Regions from separate parts of the Homo sapiens genome. Here all the other regions are linked to region 3. Evidence: promoter capture Hi-C in 16 types of primary human blood cells and fetal thymus (Javierre and others, 2016). All regions are on one chromosome and are shown on one strand. Each heading gives the region's core, a stretch centred on a gene start or on the middle of the fragment in contact. The rest is flanking DNA. Distances are from core to core; before and after follow the strand shown. Region 1 overlaps LOC124904522 (a long non-coding RNA gene). Region 2 has its middle 36 kb from the start of DUSP10. Region 3 holds the start of TAF1A (TATA-box binding protein associated factor, RNA polymerase I subunit A).

Region 1 (4,370 bases), core at 1,073-3,572, 560 kb before region 3:
AAAATATATATATATATATATATATATATATATATATATATATCTCCACCAGGAAGAAGCAGCCAGCTCAGTTTCTGGGAAATGAAAAGCTTTGCTTTGGCAAAAAGAGAAAGGAAATTTTTTAAAAAGGAGAGAAAAAAGGGTGGAGAAAGGGAAAGCAGAAGGAAGAGAAGAAGGAAGCAATTGACATCCAACAGGGGATATTTCCACAACAACAGAAGGTTGAAATCTAGCCCTGAACAAAATGGACATCAATTCACCTAAGTGGAGTGTGAGCAAAGCCAAGTAGCTATTTCTTTCCTGACCTAGGGTATTGGCCAAAGGATTCTTCTGAGATTCAGTTATAAAACAGGAATTACACTGCTTTTGTCATATCCCTGAGTCCTCCAACTGTTTCATGCTGTCAAGTAATTGACAGTCCTGAGGAGCTCCAAAATAACCATGCCAAGAGGCTATTAGAAACATTCACTCCTCAGATCTGAGGCCAGCGGTAGACAAGGCCATCCTAGCTGTCCTCTCTATGGGTTCCTTTTCCGTGGAATGCAGCCAACTGGCCCTGGAGAGGGGACAACCAGAGTCACCCATAGTTTCTTCCAGGGCTTTCAAATTACATGACACATCAGTGGCACCACAGAACCCCAGAAGCCTGAAGCTGCCACAGAGAATGTCCACTCCCTACATCCCCAAAGCATGGTTCCCATGGGCATGATGAAGAACCAGGAGTCTTCGCCCTTCTTTGGGTCACTCTTTTGTTCCACACTTATTAAGCATTCATCATGTGTCATACCCAGAGCCAGGGATGTAAAGAAAACTCTGGAAAGAGCTCTGCTTTCTTGGAGCTCACAGCCTGGCAGGGGCAGTGAACAGGATCGAATTTAGATTCAAGGTGAAAAGTATAGCCAATGACATGAATGAGGTGCTACGGCAGCACAGGGTGGAAGTCGAGATTGATTTGAGCCAAATGTGCCAGGTAACAAAGTCAAGGAGGCTTTATTAAATCCAGGCAGGAGGTCAACTGGGTAGGGAAAGTATGTCATAATCCTATTTTAAAGACTTCACATGATCTCTATCACCTACTCTGCCCTTAGGTCATTGATGACCTGCTATATTTATTTTCTTCTATTGCATAACAAAATACAAGAAATTTATTGACATAAAACATTAGCCTTTTATTATCTCACAGTTACAAGGAGTCAGGAATCCAGGCATAGTGTGGCTGGGGTCTCTGCTCAGAGTCTTACAGACTGAAATCCGGGTGTTTGCTGGGCTGAATTCCTTCTGGAGCTTGGGGTTGTGGGCAGAAACCAGTTCCTTGTAGCTGTAGAAATGACATCCTATTTTGTCTTTGCTGGTTGGTGAGAGTCACTCTTAGCCTTTGAAGGGGGCCATGCGGCTAGGACCTGAGGTAAGTAGTTCATAACAAGGCCATTTGCTTCTTTGGGGCCAGCTGTGAATTACTAGACAGTCTGCTCAGATGGAGTCTCATATAACAGCACCTAATCAAGGGAGCAGTGATCCCATTATAGTCACAGATCCCACCCACAAAAATGGAGAGGGGTGCCAAAGATGGGAATCTCGAGGGCCATCTCAGAATCAGGTCTGCAAACCTGCAACTTGTCGCATCCAGTCGGGAAACTTCACTTCTTTTGGTATTTGACTCTAGAACAGTTGGCACCATTGGCCACTCCCACCTTGAAATTCATTCAATGACTCCTATTTATTTATTATTTTTATTTTTTATTTTTGGCTCTCACTATGTTGCCCAGGATGGAGTGAAGTGGCTATTTCTAGGTGTGATCATTGCACACTACAATCTTGAGCTCCTGGGCTCAAGCATGGGACACTGAGCCCAGCCCAGCTTATCCATTCTACTTTTGATGACCATTTGAGGGATCTCTAGTTTGGTGATTTGTATTAGTTATCTTGCTGTGTGACAAATCATGCCAAAACACAGTGGATTAAAACACCATGTATTATGTGACAGTTTCTGTAGATTGAGACTCCAGGCATGGACTCTTGGCTAGGTCCTCTGGCTCTGGTCTCTCACAAGACTGTAATCAAGGTGTTAGCTGGGGCTATGGTCTCATCTTAAGGCTTGAGCTGGGGATGATTCGATGCTGAATTCGCTTAAGTGGTTGTTGGCAAGAACCATTTTATCACAGGCTGTTAGACTGATGGCTTCAGTTCCTCACCAGCTGTTGGCAAGAGGCTTCCCTTGAGTCCTTGCCATATGGGTCCTTCCATAGGGCAGCTGACAATATGACAGCCAGCTTCATGAGAGCAAGCACGCAAGAGGGCCAGAGAGAGAGTGTGAGCAAGGCAGAAGTCACATCCTTTTGTAATCTAATCTCAGAAGTGATATCCCATCAATTTTGTCATGCTCTATTTGTTAGAAGAAGTTGCTGGGTCCAGTTCACACTTAAGGAGAGAAGATTACAGAAAGGCATGAATATCAGGAGGCAGAAATCTTAGGGAGCCATCATAGAAGCTGTCTAGTACAAAGGATATAACAAACAATGCTGCCTTACAGATTTTCGTATATATATTGTGGCATATGAGCATATCAGGTTATGCACCTAGGCATGGAGTTCCTAGGTCTTAGGGCATGTGAATCTTCAAGTTTCCATGACAGTGCCAAACTTCTACCAAGTGGTTATACCAATTCACATTTCCACTAGCAACAAGTGAGAATTCTGTTTGCACCATATCGTCACCAACACTTTTTATTGTCAGACATTTTATTTTTGGCCAATATGATTTATATAATATGTGATGTATTATAGCTTTAATTTGCATTTCTAAGATTTCTAATGAGGTTTGGTACTTTTTCATTTATTTATTGGTCATCTTATATTTCCTCTTTTATGAAGTATCTGCCTGTATCTTTTGTCCATTTTTCTACTGACTTTTCTTACTGATTTGTATGAGTTCTGAAGATAATCTGGATGCTTGGGCTGTGGCAGTTATATGTGTTGCAAGCATCTCTCTGGTTTTGTTTCCTATCTTTTTATTCTTTTAAATATGTCTTTTGATGAACACAAGGTCTTCATTTTAAGGCAGTTGAATTTATCAATCTTTTCCTTTATGAACTCTTGGACTAAGCCTGTCTTCTAGCTATTGTTTTCCGCCTATGTCTCCAACTGTCCCCCCATCTTTGATCCCCCCATTGTCTCCATATAAACATCTTTTCTATGCTCTGGACACATGACTTCAACTGCTCACTCGATGGCTCCACCTCCATATCCCACAGTCAGTCCAACACCAGTTTATCCCAAAATGAACTCATCCCTCCAAGTTCACCTTCCGCCACCCTACCACCCCTAGCTTGTATTTCCTAACTCCATGACTGACACAACTATCCACCAATCACAAAGCCAGTGTCTTGTGAATTTGCCCTGACTGCTCTTTCTCTTATAAGGATCCAGTTTTTCTGATTCTACAATCTAAACCTTGCCCCACTCTGTCTTCTCCTCTACATCTCCAGTGCCAGAATGTAAGTTCCATGAGACCAGGGACCTTGTCCAGCTTGTTCATTACCACAATATCAGTAAGGGATGGTGCTTAACAGCATGAATTTTGCAGCCCAATTACCTGATTCAAATCCTGACTCCATCAATTATTAGGTATCTAAGTAAGTGGAAGTTATATGACCTCTTCTCCCGCAGTTTCCCCATTGGTAAAATGGGGGATGATAATAGTACTGATTCATAGGGTTGTGGTGAGGGTTGAATCAGTTAATGCATGTATAGTATTTAGAAAAGAACAGGACACATGGTAAGCACTCAATAAATATTGACTATTAATATTATACCCTACCACCTAGCATGGGATGGGGTATAATATTATGCATCAAAATATATTTTAAGCATCAACAAATATTTATCATCAAAAAACTAACCATCAAATAATATATATCAACAGAGATGAATGAATGCCACTGCTTTAATTTAGACTCTTATTATCGTTGCTTAGACAATTGCTGTAGCCTCCTAACTGGGCTTACTTTCTGCTAACCATCCCATCCCCCATTCCATTCATTTTACACACTGCCATTAGGGTTATAACTTCTTGTCTATAAATATGAAGGTGTGGTGCCACTCCATTGCTTAACACCATCCAGTGGATCCCCAAGCCCTACAGGGAGGCAGAGCATAGCCCAGACTCCTCAGCAGAACACATGTGCATGAACGTGGGATCTGGTGATTGCCTACCTACCTCTTCAACCGCCTCCATCCTTCACACAACCTGCGCTCCATTTACCAAACCACTGGCAGTTCCCCAAATGAGCCACATTCCTTCATTCGTCTCCTGCCCAGAATGCCCTCCCTCTGTCCCGTCCAGGTGACAAAGTCATCTTTTTCTTTTTCACC
Region 2 (3,968 bases), core at 801-3,300, 810 kb after region 3:
AAACTGGATTTGAGGATGGGATTGTTGCAGGGGAAGGACAGGGAATAGCAGACAGATATCAAAACAGAAGCTTGGGGACCAAAGCCTAAACCATGGGCCAACTTACTCAAACTGGATCATGGATTATGAATCCATGCACAGGAGACTCATGACCTTAAGGAAACCTGCAAGGGAGGTGACATGACTCAGGCTGCAATACTAGCTTGACTCCTGTCACTTCACTGCAGAGGAATTTGTGAGCCAGGCAGGATCCTAATGTGCATCTCTGGGCCTGCTTTCTCCAGGCTGACTGATAGAAGCTGTGGCTTGATGCTGAGTTCACCATCAGGGCTGAGGCTGCTCAGGAGCTTCCTTTTCCAAGCCCAGATAGGTCTTAGAGGTAGGTAGAGTGGCCGTCCATGCAGGGAGAGCCCAGAGGCTGGAGAGCTAGCTAGGCTCTGGTTGCGTCTGTTTTGTGGCTAGGTGGTTGGTTTCGCCTTGTGTCCTTAGGAGGTCCAGGGCTGCCCACGGCCACCATTGGTTTTCAACTGTGTGAACAGACACAATGCCCCAGACCAGGGAAGAGAACACTGCGAGTGTGCAAGCAAACTCATAACCAGCACCCCAATGTGCCTTTGTTTGCCCTCTCCCCCTTGGCACATAGAACCAATCTAAAAAATTGCTCCCTTACACTTCTATCAAAATCTCAAATTTTCAAAGTCCTATCAAGAATATTATCCCATAAGCCAAGGCTAGAGATGAGTTTTCGTAATAACTTCACCAGACAAAAGAGAAAACTGAAGCTACAAGAGGCAAGACCTACCCAGAACCATTTGGCTGAGCCCAGCACTCTGCCCATGGTCCATGCACCCCTTGACCCTGACATCAGCAAAGCAGTCCCCATCACCAAAGTGCTATGTGCCATGTGCCCCTGGGAAGAAGAACCAATCTGAGATTGCAAACAATGGGAAAGGACCTCAACTCTTGTGAGGCAGCTCTAAGAACTTTCAGCCCTAGACCTGTACATTTTTTGTGATTTTTTAAAAATGTAACTCACCATGCTATACACATCCTTAGCACACATCCCGTACACAAGCTCACTCTGCTCCTGGCATTGAGCACCCAGGGTCTCTTTAGGGGACTCCCTTTTTCTCCCCTGAACGGGCCACTCTTTACCATCAAAATGAATTGCCTATCATCTGTACTCGGCTTTTTAGCAGTCACAAATACAGGGTGGGGAATTTATTGGATACCAGGTGTCCTATTAGCCAAAGTCCTTTCCAGCTCATGCTGCTGAATGAGCCAGGTCATGACCCCAACCAGGCACTCTGGTTAGAGCTCAGTGTAGACAGATGTGCACACACTGCTGGGCACAGAAGGTTTGGGAGTGTAGACAGAGGAAGTGAGTCCTGTCAACTGGGGCGGCTCCTGCACTGAGCAGTGAGGGCTGTGAGTGAGAACTCTCTGATGCTTCCTCTCTATGTAAGGCCCGTGAGCTTTATGACTTCCTTCTGGCTTGGTTGTAAGCGAAAATCACCTCAAAAGGGGCGTGGGTAAGAGCTACTAGCCTTCTTGGAATGCCTACTATGTGCCAGACATGAAAGCAGATGCTTTTTTCAAATACTTCTGTCGGATGAACTTTCTTATTATTGTGGTACAGATGAGGAGGCAAAATCATTTGTCTAAGACCCCACTGTTTCAGCTGCAAGCTTTCGTGGCTCCTCAGTTTGCATTTTTTCCTCACTGCAGTATCACTTTGTGAAGGAGGTCTGAAGTCTTCAAATGAAAATAGAGTTTTCTCCTTATGTAAGTATAGCAATCAAATGTTCTGGAAAGAACACTGTGCCCAGCCAAATTGCTCTAGATGTTCAGGGCAGGAGAGGGGCGGATATCCTGGTGGTGATGACCACATAACAAGAAGAGACAATGTGTGCTTAAGGTACCAGCATCTCAGGGTGGTCTAGTATTTCTCAGAGAATGGTCTGAGAGTTGGCCTCTCGTGGTATAGGTAAATTTTTAAGTATTTATGAAAATGCTTATATGTCTGGTTTCAGCCTGATTTAGTAATTTGCTTGTATAATCTCTATGTCTATTCTTGGTGGTCCAAAGGGCCCAGATTAAGAATTTTATAAACATCCTGCTGTGTTTAGTGTGTTATACCTCGGAGTATCTATTTCGCTAACCCAGATGGTGCCGTTACCACACACATATCCTGCAAGGGGAGGGAATTGTATTAACAAGTATAACCAGCAAAACCACAGCATTTCACTTTAGCAAAAGGGGCCGAAACAGGAAGCAGGTAAATTCCCTGCTCCCACACATCTACCATTCTCTCCTCCCTTCTATGAACTTAGAGTCTCTGGTTTTGTGGCCACTGAACTTGTCTCCACCTCTAGGGGCCAAATTGGGCACTGGGGGGAATTCACAAGCTTTATATTTAGCTCAAAATCACCTGGGCTATATGTGGGCTCATCACTTCCTTAAAGGTGGAAGAAGTTATAATTTCTTTTTTCTCTCTTCTCTTTCTCTCTCTCCATCTTTTCTCTTCTTTTCCTCTGTCATTTTCCCCTTCTCCTTCCAAGCATTATAGTCTTCCTTGGACCGCTTTTTCCGAATTGGCTTCCACTGGCCCATTCCAGAGTACAATTACTAGTACTGTACTACATTTCCAATAGTCAATAAGAAAGCAGAAGTGGCCACATTGGCTTCCCCTAAAAGCAGCATCAAATTTCAAGTACTTTCTTATATTACCGCCGCTCATTCCACCACCCTCTATAAGCACACAACTCACTGCTGAGCACATCATAAATGCTAAAAAGTAGTGAATAAATCAACGAATTAAATAATTCTTTTATTCTAATTTTTTTTGTACAGCAAGCCATTGTGAATAAGATGGTTCTTTTATCCCCAAAGAGGTTGCCTATTGACTGAAAGCCTAAGCACAGCTTCTGAGAGTCACAATGAGATCACATCTCTACTGTACTGAAAATCTTTTCAGGCACCAGAGAGAAAGGCCTGAGTGTGATTCTCCTTCCCTGGTTCTGAGTGAGAAGGTCATTAGCTCACTAGGTACTGGCAATTTCAAGAATTGCCAAAATGACAGTGATGTGATAAGAACAACTATCCTGTTGGGTCTTTGTGTAGTATTTTTCCTTTGAAAACAGCTTTATGCTAATTATCCCATATGAAACACAAAAAAAAAGGAAGTGTGAGGTCAATGTGGCTAAGATTTATGTCCGTTTTGCAGACGTGGATCTGAGATATCTCGTGATTTGCTGGTGGTTGCACAGGTAGTGGAAGAGCTGGGGTGGAAGGGTTTCTTCCTGAGCAGGTGGCTGTTCCTCCCAGAAGTCCTGCCTACCTGCCTTTCTCTTGCTGACAGCCATATCACCCACTTTGTTTAAGGGTCAAAACTGTCTCAGGTTGTTCTCACTGCTACACACCCACTAGCGCCATGACAAATTACAGATGCCATGGCAACATCAGGAAGTTACCCTGTATGATCTAAAATGGGGAGGAACCCTCAGTTCTGGGAATTGTCCACCTCTTTCCTGGAAGACTTGTGAATAATCCATTCCTTGTTTAGCCTATAATCAGGAAACAACCATAAAAACGGGCAACCAGAAGCCCTCAGGGCTACTCTGCCTATGGAGTAGCCATTGTTTATTCCTTTACTTTCTTAACAAACTTGCTTTCACTTAAGAAAAAAAAAAAAACTTTCTCCAGTAAAAATTTATGTTCACACCTAAAATTTGTAAACCAATGTGCATAGCATCTTTATTCATGATGGTTAAACACTGGAAACAATCCAGATGTCCATCAATAGACGAGTGGATAAGCAAAATGTATAATCCGTGCAATGGAATATTATCGGGCTGTCAAAAGGTATGAAGAGCTGACACATGCTGCAACATGGCAAAACCCTGAAAACATTATTTTAAGTGAAAGAAGCCAGTCACAAAAGCCCACATTATGTATTATTCCGTTTA
Region 3 (4,305 bases), core at 734-3,233:
CAGGAAGCGTTCATGGAAATAATATTCCTTAAATGACAGTTTGCAACTTTAAAAACAACATAATTCATCACCATATTAAGTTGCTCTGTAGCACAAAGTAATTGTAAGAACATGTTTTTCTTAGGACATGTTTTCTTATAGATTGAAATCTAGAAAAGTCTTTGCATGCTTTATGTTTTCATATTTGTCATGCCTTTTTTTTTTTTTTTTTTGAGACATGGTCTTGCTATGTTGCCCAGGATGGAATTGAACTTTTGAGCTCAGCGATCTTCCTGCCTCAGCCTCTGGAGTAGCTGGGACTACAGATGCCTGCCACGGCAACCTTCCCTCCTTCCTTCTTGTTTATGCTATTGGATGTGATCTAGTTGATTTTTTTTATCTCTTCTCTCCAACACATTTTCTGTCAGAATTGCAGCATGGGAAAGAAAAAGCATAGGTAGGGCACGTTTCCTACTGCTCCTTAGAGCTGTTTGAGAACTTCGAGGAAAATCTGAAAGCTCTTCCTCATTTTCGGGAGAACATAAACTTTTTTCCATGTAAAATCATTTCTGGGCTGGTTTTGGTGAATTTACACCTCAAGCCAATGGGAGAAAAGTAGCCAGACTAAGCCTCTAGACAAGAAAGTAATGATTATGTATGTTATTTTGTGTGTGGTCTCCTGGACTACGCATAATTTATGTTAGCCCTGCCTGTAGAGTTAGAGCACAAGCTTGAGTGAGGACTCAAGAACTAATGACAGAGAGAGCAGCAGAAGGAACTTTTCTTGCAAGTCCTTAACTACTGCATATTGTTTTATGCAGAAGACAACATAGAATCAACTATTTGTAGCATTTTAAGGAATCCATGTACAAAATTTTTTTTGACAGGGTCTCATTCTGTCGCCCAGGCTGGAGTGCAGTAGGGTGATCACAGCTCACTGCAGCCTCGACCTCCCTGGGCTCAGGTGATCCTCCCACCTCATCCTCCCGAGTAGCTGGGACTAGAGGCATGCATCATCACCCCAGCTTATTTTTTTTTATTTTTATTTTGTAGGGACGGGGTTTCATCATGTTGACTAGGCTGGTTTCGAACTCCTGAGCTCAAACTTTCCGCCTGCCTCGGCCTCCCAAAGGGCTGGGATTACAGGCATGAGCCACCGCGCCCGGCCTCAAACTCTTACCAGACCCTTTAATTTCCTCTCCGATACTCCGATTCTACTCAAACTGTTCACCTACACAGAGGAAACTCAGTGATTCCTGGGGGAGCCTATGCTATATTTGTGCATCCTCATTTGTGGACAAAATTCTTTCTTGCTGTGACTTGAAAGCAGCCTCCCTTTACCTTTCACTTATTAGTCCTAGTTCTGTTCTCTGCTGCTAAGAAAAAGGGTCTGATCCTTCTTTCACTGATCAGCCCTCCAAATATTGGAGAAGCACACTGCGTTTCCATGGGCCTGCAGTCCTTTTCCGGGATCATCTTCCCTAGAACCCCTCAACTGTCTCTCATTTCACACGGTTTAACCATCTTACCTTTAACCCATATTTCATTTGTTTGTCTCAATGTCCCTCATGAAAGTTGACCCAGACGGGTCCGCAGAACAACTTTTGCTGAGAAGGCAAAGGAAATTCTCGCCCAAATTGTGGAGAAGGCAGTCGAACCAATTAAACCTAAAGCTAAAACTGTAATAGAAAAGAACTTTCAAGCTCGCAATGAAAAGGCTATGCATGGATTTATCTCATCACAGCCACTAGCCACACCTCCACTCGTGCAGTGCGCCTGCGAGCCGAGCAGAAACCAATGGCCCATCGTAGTGAATTTCTCGGGTAAAGTGACATTCTCCGCTTTTGAATGCTCCCTTCGCCCAGCCGCCAACCCCTCGCCCCAATTTCCATTTTAAATGAAAGTCTCCCACTTTCTAGCTGAGACAGACAAAAATAAAACTCGGGCAAAACCAATCGCAGAGAGGCAGCTCACTGTCACTTCCTGGGTCACTTCCAGAAGTCACTTCCGGGGTCGAGGCGAGGCCAACGATACGCCTGCTGCAGCAGGAGGAGTTACGAGCCGGGCCGCGCGCTGCCTAAATACCTAAACCAGGTTTAGCGCCTGCTCATATAAAGCTCTCCTAACTCGTCTTCCGGTGGGAATTTCTTCACGTGGGCCGGAGTCGGAGACTGAGTTTAGCTTTACTGAGGAGCTCTAAATTTAGGCGGGTAAGTGCCGCAGATATCGCCCGTGGTTCCTGCGTTTAAATGGAACGGGAAGGGGTGTGTCAGGATTCATCCATGTTCTCCTGATATTTCCTCCTAATACCTGAAACCCTTGGGGTCTGAAAACGAAAGAAGGGGATAGAGAAGCTTTGGTTGCCGTGGCAACTGCGGGTCACCAATTTGGGTTTTTGAGGATTTGGAAAGGGAGGATTTGTGTAACTACTCCTGAAAACACGTGATGGGTCGGATTCAAATTCAGTTGTTACTTATAATTCATACTCCTAGCCACATGCTTTGAATTTAGAAGGTTTACTCTGGGTATAATGCAGAGATGCAAAATCTGAGCCAGGGTAATTGTTTAGAAAGCTGATGCGGTAATCTAGGCACTGTTTGAAGGGGTCTTGAACTAGAGTAGTGCTGTAGGATTGAAGAGGGGAAATAGGGGAAATTTGGAGGTAGTATCAGGGGCACTAATACTCGATTTCATATGGGTAATGAGGAAGGGGCCCTGAGCATCTTTAGGAGTAAGTCTAAACTCACCTTGGCTTATGATGATTTTTCTAGGTTCGTTTCTCACCTTCCGCACCCCTCCTCCACACGCACCTCGAATTCTAGTCATGCCAAGTAGTTTGGTGTTCTATTTCCTAGACTATCGTCCTCACCATTTTTTGTGATGTTAGGCAGGTTCCATCATTTCACTAAGCCCCTCAGTTTTTTCAACCTTCACATGGAAGAAAGTAATAGTACCCACCTCAGGATTGCTGTGGGGATTAAATTAGATAATTTATACTTCTAGTGCATAGTAAGGGCCTAATAAATATTAGCTGCTACTTCTATTCTTACTGTACTTTTCATATTGTTTTGTTATTATACGTTTTGCTGTTTCTTCGTCTAGACTTGAGATTTTTTAAATTAGAGGGGCAGTATCTTATTTATCTTTACATGGACTTGAAACATTAGTGGTTCGGTCTTTAATGGATCATTCATTTTGGCTGTTGCTGACATAGTTAAATTCATTTTTTACTTTAAAAGAGCTGACAGGTATAATGCATTTTGCTAATCAAATTATATTTATTAGATAAAAAGATAGCCGTTTTTCTGTACAACTCAGAAGACTGTGGATTAAGATGTACAGAAAGTAACTGATATCTCATCTTGTAATAGGTATGAGTGATTTCAGTGAAGAATTAAAAGGGCCTGTGACAGATGATGAAGAAGTGGAAACATCTGTGCTCAGTGGTGCAGGAATGCATTTTCCTTGGCTTCAAACATACGTAGAAACTGTGGGTAAGTAAAATAATAACATTGAGCCATTTTAACTTTAAGGAGGTGGTAAGATTCAATAGGGATACAAAATGAATAACCAGACTGGTTTAATTTTCAAGAGGAATATGTGGAGGGTTTTTTGGCTAAAAGCCAAAAGAAATCTTTTTTCTTTTAGAATTCTTTGCCCTTGGATTAATAATAGATAGTCTGTATTATGCTAGATACACATTTTTTCCAGTAATACTTACTGAGCACTTTTATCTCTGGCATTGATTAAATATTGGGGAGTCATAGGTGAAGATATGGTCTCTGCCATTGAGGAAAACATGCCTAGGAAGTGTTCAAGAAGTTGCTGTTGAATTGCATTGAAATTATTTCGAATAGAATTGATCGTGTAATAGATTTTTTTTTTTTTTGAGACAGAGTCTTGCTCTGTTGCCCACGCTGGAGTGCAGTGGCTAGATCTTGGCTCACTGCAACCTCTGTCTCCCAGGTTCAAGTGATTCTACTCAGCCTCCCGAGTAACTGAGATTACAGGTACCAGCCACCACGCCTGGCTAGTTTTTGTATTTTTAATAGAGACAGGGTTTCACCATGTTGGGCAGGCTGTTCTTGAACTCTTGACCTCAAGTGACCTGCCCACCTCAGCCTCCCAAAGTGGTGGGATTACAGGCATGAGCCACTGCACCCGGCCTAGATAAAAGAGCATTTTCCCCCATTTTTATCTAATGTAAATGCAAGCATGATTTTCTATGGGATAAAATTTCCCCCATTTTTATCTAATATAAATGCAAGTATGTTTTTCTATGGGATAAATTCCCTATAAGAATATATTTAATATAAGTATAAATAA

Evidence for each region. The method cuts DNA at HindIII sites, captures the fragments that hold promoters and counts their contacts. A CHiCAGO score of 5 or more calls a contact.
Region 1: a fragment that was not itself captured here is called in contact with the fragment with the promoter of TAF1A in region 3 in 1 of 17 cell types (neutrophils); the score reaches 5.2 in neutrophils.
Region 2: a fragment that was not itself captured here is called in contact with the fragment with the promoter of TAF1A in region 3 in 1 of 17 cell types (total B cells); the score reaches 5.8 in total B cells.

What each region holds. Positions count from the first base shown.
Region 1 is chr1:223,145,936-223,150,305 of GRCh38, reverse strand. It overlaps LOC124904522 (a long non-coding RNA gene), which reads right to left. Exons shown (of 2, transcript XR_007066895.1): 2 at 1,149-2,418. Among named protein-coding and RNA genes, the nearest start is that of TLR5, 4.9 kb to the right of the region's middle. The HindIII fragment of the contact is 4,461 bases long and covers 92-4,370 here.
Region 2 is chr1:221,776,221-221,780,188 of GRCh38, reverse strand. No RefSeq gene overlaps it. Among named protein-coding and RNA genes, the nearest start is that of DUSP10, 36 kb to the right of the region's middle. RefSeq lists enhancers at 1,230-1,279, 2,330-2,379, 2,410-2,459, 2,530-2,619. The HindIII fragment of the contact is 720 bases long and covers 1,691-2,410 here.
Region 3 is chr1:222,587,611-222,591,915 of GRCh38, reverse strand. TAF1A (TATA-box binding protein associated factor, RNA polymerase I subunit A) reads left to right here and starts at 1,983. Exons shown (of 11, transcript NM_005681.4): 1 at 1,983-2,189; 2 at 3,351-3,473. The coding sequence starts at 3,353. It overlaps TAF1A-AS1 (TAF1A antisense RNA 1), which reads right to left and starts at 1,996. Exons shown (of 3, transcript NR_110613.1): 1 at 1,954-1,996; 2 at 1,509-1,658. RefSeq lists enhancers at 950-1,482, 1,483-2,016. The HindIII fragment of the contact is 1,624 bases long and covers 712-2,335 here.